Regions from separate parts of the Homo sapiens genome. Here region 1 is linked to region 2. The links are contacts of gene promoters, found by promoter capture Hi-C in blood cells and fetal thymus (Javierre and others, 2016). All regions are on one chromosome and are shown on one strand. Each heading gives the region's core, a stretch centred on a gene start or on the middle of the fragment in contact. The rest is flanking DNA. Distances are from core to core; before and after follow the strand shown.

Region 1 (2,803 bases), core at 252-2,751, 290 kb after region 2:
AATTGGAGAAGCGGGTGCTCCTGGCATCCACTGAACAGAGGCCAGGGATACTACTAAACACCCTACAATGCACTGGATGGTCCACAGGAGTTGCCCAACACCAAATGTCAACTGCACCAGTGGAGAAATCAGTCCTGGTGCTGCTCCCACATCTGATCCTATCACTCTCCCTCTCACTCGCAACCCTTCTACTGTCTCCTCCACCAACATACAAAGCTATTTTCTGACCAAAGAGCTTCGCTCATGCTGTTTCCTCTGCCCGGACACTCTCTTCTCCAGGGTCCCAGGCTGACTTCTCATCTGATGGTCTTTGCTTAAAGGCCATCTCTTCAGAGAGCCTTTTTTGGACCAACCTGTCTTAAATTAGCCCTCCCACTTCCATGGTAACTCTCTACCCTCTTTCCTGGTTTTATTTTTCTTCATAGCATTTACCACCTTATTTTGCTTATTGCCTGTCTCCCCCATATTGCACATTAAAGTTTGAGAAATACTGGTTTCAAGAAAGGATTGAAAACTGAGGATCCTACAGGGGCCAGCAGAGATGATCTTGGGTGACTTTATTTTTTTATTTTATTTTATTTTATTTTTTATTTTTTTTAATTTTATTTATTTATTTTTTTTTGAGACGGAGTCTCGCTCTGTCGCCCAGGCGGGACTGCGGACTGCAGTGGCGCAATCTCGGCTCACTGCAAGCTCCGCTTCCCGGGTTCACGCCATTCTCCTGCCTCAGCCTCCCGAGTAGCTGGGACTACAGGCGCCCGCCACCGCGCCCGGCTAATTTTTTTTGTATTTTTAGTAGAGACGGGGTTTCACCTTGTTAGCCAGGATGGTCTCGATCTGCTGACCTCATGATCCACCCGCCTCGGCCTCCCAAAGTGCTGGGATTACAGGCGTGAGCCACCGCGCCCGGCCTGGGTGACTTTAATAAAGCAGCCAAATGTAGTTAGTCTGGTTCTAAAATTTCAGAATTCCTTGGCAATGCCGAAGTGACCCTATTCTTGAGATGCTGGCTTTTTAGAAGAAATATAAGAAAAACTCTATAGAAGAAAACTCACAACTGCAAAAACATGCAGAAATAACTAAGGAAAACTTGTGACATTTTGATAAGAAAACTATAAAGCTTTACTGATTGATACAAAAGCTTGAATGAATGAAAACACAGTATCATATTCCTGGATGTTAAGATTAAATGTAACAATGTTAATCCTTCCTAACTTATAAGTTCATTGCAATAATAATCAGAAGGTTGGTTTTTGATTACTAAAGATAAATTTTAATCTGGAATAACGGAAACTTATATATAACTTCACATAAATTTATGCATACATGTACATATACTTTTTAAAGGCACAATGATGGAAAACATTAAATATAGCCATAAAAATTAAGAAGAATATAGATCTAGGATAAAACAGGGCAACAAGCCAATAAAAGCAAGTAGATGGTCCAAATATAGAACCTACATTATAAAATATAACAATTTATAATTTACTAATAATGTTGGGGCAATTAACAATGAGGAAGAATAAATTTAATTCTCTTTTCATACAATATGCCCAAGTAAATTCAATAATCACTAAAGCATATTTTTAAAACTCCAGAATAAAACACTAATGTTTACAGAGGGTTAGATTTTGTAGGGTTGGAAGAAAATAGAAGGATTGAAATATATAAAAATTGAAACATTTTCAAAAAATAAAGAAAATACCAAAGAGGGAAAATCATTTGCAGCCAAGATGACAACAAAGAATTAATATCTTTATTATGCAAAGAGATGGTTCAAACTGATAGGAAGCTATTAAAGTCACATAGACAAATGATTAAAAGACAGACAATGTGAAGAGAGGAAACAATGGCTTAAGAAGCTTACAGGAGAAAGTTCAACATCCTTAAAAATCAAAGACAATTAAAATGAGATGCCCTTTCCCCTATTAGCAAAGTTGCTACTAAACACCCTACAATGAAAAGTGCTGTTATTACATAATGCCAGCTGGGCGGGAGGTGTGGGGGGTAGTGGGTGTGTGTGAGGAACACGTATCCCCAAGCATTACTAGCAGTAGCAGCAGTGCAAACTGATGTAATGTTTCCAAAAGGAACTTGGATATATCAAAAATCTTAAAAGCAATTATACACCTTCTGATGCAGCAATTCCTCTTTGGCAAATATGTATCGTAAAGAAATTTTACATTTGGAAAAAGGTTTAAGCACCGAAATGTTGATTATAGTATGTTCATAACTATGAAAAATTGAAACTGAATTTTACCTCCTAACAACAGAGGAGGAGCCATCCACAGAAAGCACTGGGTTTGCTGTGCCACTGGTAAGGCGGTGATAACCACAGACGAGTGAGTGATGACAGCAGTTTTGTAAGGTATAAGATTGGGTAGAAAAACAAGGTATACTATCGCACACATGGAATAGTCACAGCTATATGACAACTATCTATAAATACCTTAAAAATAGGTAATACAGGGTTGGGTGCGGTGGCTCACACCTGTAATCCTAGCACTTTGGGAGGCCAAGGCAGGCAGATCACCTGAGGTTAGGAGTTCCAGACCAGCCTGGCCAACATGGCAAAACCCCATCTCTACTAAAAATAGAAAAAAAAAAAAGCCGGGCAGGGTGGTGCATGCCTGTAGTCCCAGCTACTTGGGAGGCTGAGGCAGGAGAACTGCTTGAACCTGGAAGGCAGAGGCTGCAGTGAGCCACGATCGCGCCCCTGCACTGCAGCCTGGGCAACAGAGCGTAATACAGTCATGAGGGTAACAAAGTGGACAGGTATAGACCATGAAAATGAGATCTT
Region 2 (2,857 bases), core at 67-2,566:
ATGTGGCACTTCCTTGTGCCAAGTTCTACTTATGCTCACCATAAACCTGAGGTTGGTTCTGTTATTACTACTGTTTTACAAGTGAACCGAGGAGTGGTGGACTTAAGTAAGCTCTCTCAGTCACACAGCCAGCCAGTGGTGAAACCAGGAGTCAACACCAGACAGCGGGGCGCCACAGTCCATGCTCTTATTTTTCCAAGCTACCTTGGTAGGAAGGGGACACAACCATACTTAGCGTCAGTGGAGGGCTCTGTCCTCCACTCAAATGTACACATGCAGAAAACTGACGACGCAGGTGGTTGGCGGGGGCAGCGCACCACTGCTCAACTGGAGATGGTCAGATGCCCTGGTATGTGGACAAAGATAGCCCAGTCCGAAGCTCAGAGATGCAAAGTCCTCCAGTATTCACCACTACCTCTGCCTCTGTATAGGGTCAAAGAAAAACGACCACCAGCACCATAACCAACACCTAAACACGGTGATTAGTATGTGACAAGCTCTGTGCAGGGTGTTTCAGCTACGTCATCCCATTTAATCTTCCCAATAACACCCAGGCAGGTGCTATTAATATGCTATTTTACCAAGGAGGAAAGTCATGCACAATTAAACAGTTCCACAGATTTCCAGGGCAGCCCATCACATCTTAGAGCTGCTAAGAATTCTTCCCCTGTGGGCCTCCATTTCCATGGTTACAGTGAGATATACACCAGAAAGGCACAGTCACACACTCATAACCGCAAAGCCACTGACGCTAAGTGGCAGACAGACGCCCAGGCAAGTCACACAGTAACCCAAGGCTACAATAAACGCCCACATCAGCCTGACACTGACACACGCACACACTCCAGAAACACAAATCTTCACAGTCAGCGTCACACACCCACTCCCGGCTTCCCAATGGCTCCATTGTTTCCTTCGCGTGGGTCACGCAGCGATACACATCCGCGGTCCCGACATAGCTCCCTCACACACAGGCACACACGGCTCGCCTCACACGCGGCGCCAACTTCACACTTGGGCGCACAAGCCCCGAGAACCACAGCAGCGAAGGGCGCAAACCCCACGCCGTGGCGGGCCGAGAACCCACGCAGGCGCGAGCCCACCGCCCACGCAAGCACCCGCGCAGACGCCCACGCCATCGTGGATGCGCAAACCCACGCGCGCCTTGGCAGGAACGTCCACGCAGTGGCGGGCGCGCCGCCCACGCCCTCAGACACACCCACACTCTCGCCAGCCCCCTTACCTCGGTCTTCCCGGGCTCAGACCCCGGCGGCGACCACCGAGACAGCCGAGCAGGGACTCAGCGCCTGCGCACTCCCCTCCGGGACCCCGGGACCGCGCGCTGCACCCCCCTTCACACACGCACCACGCATGCGGGCGCGTGGCCCCGCCCCCAAACAAGGCCACGCGGCGTGCGCTCACCCGCCTCTCGGGGACAGTACCACCAGCCCCGGCCTGAGGCCCCGACCCCTCAGCGCCACACGCACAAGCGCGTTCGCACGATTGGTGCAGGCGGACGCGCGAGGTCCCGCGCCTGCGCACACCCCCGAGGCTGGCACGCACACCGGTCTCCTAGGGGACTGGCGCCTGGCCCTGCTTTTCATCCTCTCAGGAGATCACGTGTGGACACTGAGGCCCTTCCTCGAGCTCTTTAACCAAACCCAACCTCCCCAATTCGCCGCCTTCCCCGCTCCCACAACCACACGTTCCCGTGTGAGGGCTTATTGCCTCCAGCCAGCCAGCGTCCTTCGCCCCCACATTCACGAGGTTTGGAGCCGGCCTCACCCGCGGAGGCGGACACCGCCCACCCGCGCGTGCGCACTACGCAGTCATCCTGCGACCTCCAGAATCCACCGGGGTGCAGCGAGGCTGTGGAAAGTCCCACCCAGAACGTGAGGTGAAGAAGGCTTGGGCTGCGCTGGTTCTGCTCTGTCCGGGTCGGAGATGAACTGACCCGGGAGAGCAGCGGAGGGATGTTTCTTTTGGCCAACAGTGGGGACTCACCTGCACGTTTTGCGAAGAGGCCCACAGTCCTTTGCGTGGCGCTCGGACTACATTTCCCAACGGCCCCTGCACGCCCTGGGGGCTGTTCCATGCGGTGTTGCGCCTGCGTAGCCGGCGGGCTGGCAGTGAGACTGACTGCGTCGGGGTTGAGACTGGGTGGATGAGGCTCACCCCGGCGGGGAGAAGGGACGAGGAGGGGCGGACAGCGGAAGGTCCGGGAGTGTCCGCCATAAAGTCGTTTGAGGTGACCGTTGCGTAATTGTGAGTCTGTGAGAGAAGATGTGAAGTATGGCCTCGTCCCGGTCATCTGGGCGTGCGGGTCCCGGGTTTTGATCGCGCGTTTGTGTAGGTGAGACCCACATTGTGTTACCCTGAACATGTGTGAGGACGAACCTTTGTGTTTTCTTATACGTGTGTCTCTGAGGCGATTTTTGTGGTTTTGTACGTGGCGGGGGGCACTGATTTTGAATATGTGTGTATGTTCTGGACATTTGTTTAGCTTCTGCATCCACTTCTGCGGAAGGGCAGAGTTGAGTAGGTGGGAACAGGTACTGTGTGGCCCCACAAAGCCTGAACTATTTACTGTTGACTCTAGAGCCCAGTTTTTGCGGTGTGTACGTCTCTGTGGGGAACCACACATTTTGAATATGTATACTTGTGTATATTTACGTCTATTCTATGACTGCTTTTGCACAATGGCAGGGTTCAGTACTTGCAGCAGAGATCTTGTGGCCCATAAAGCCTAAAATACTATCCGACTAAGGTTTCGAGCCGTAGCCAGTTTTTGTGGATGAGTGTTGTGTGTGTGTGGGAAGCCAGTGATTGATTGATTGATTGATTGATTTGGGACGGA

What was found. The method cuts DNA at HindIII sites, captures the fragments that hold promoters and counts their contacts. A CHiCAGO score of 5 or more calls a contact.
Region 1: a fragment that was not itself captured here is called in contact with the fragment with the promoter of ZNF667 in region 2 in 1 of 17 cell types (activated CD4 T cells); the score reaches 5.9 in activated CD4 T cells.

What each region holds. Positions count from the first base shown.
Region 1 is chr19:56,767,839-56,770,641 of GRCh38, forward strand. All of the region lies in intron 1 of ZIM2-AS1 (ZIM2 antisense RNA 1), which reads left to right. Among named protein-coding and RNA genes, the nearest start is that of ZIM2-AS1, 3.9 kb to the left of the region's middle. The HindIII fragment of the contact is 724 bases long and covers 1,140-1,863 here.
Region 2 is chr19:56,476,029-56,478,885 of GRCh38, forward strand. ZNF667 (zinc finger protein 667) reads right to left here and starts at 1,317. Exons shown (of 7, transcript NM_001321356.2): 1 at 1,244-1,317. ZNF667-AS1 (ZNF667 antisense RNA 1) reads left to right here and starts at 1,846. Exons shown (of 2, transcript NR_036521.1): 1 at 1,846-2,353. The HindIII fragment of the contact is 7,484 bases long and covers 1-2,857 here.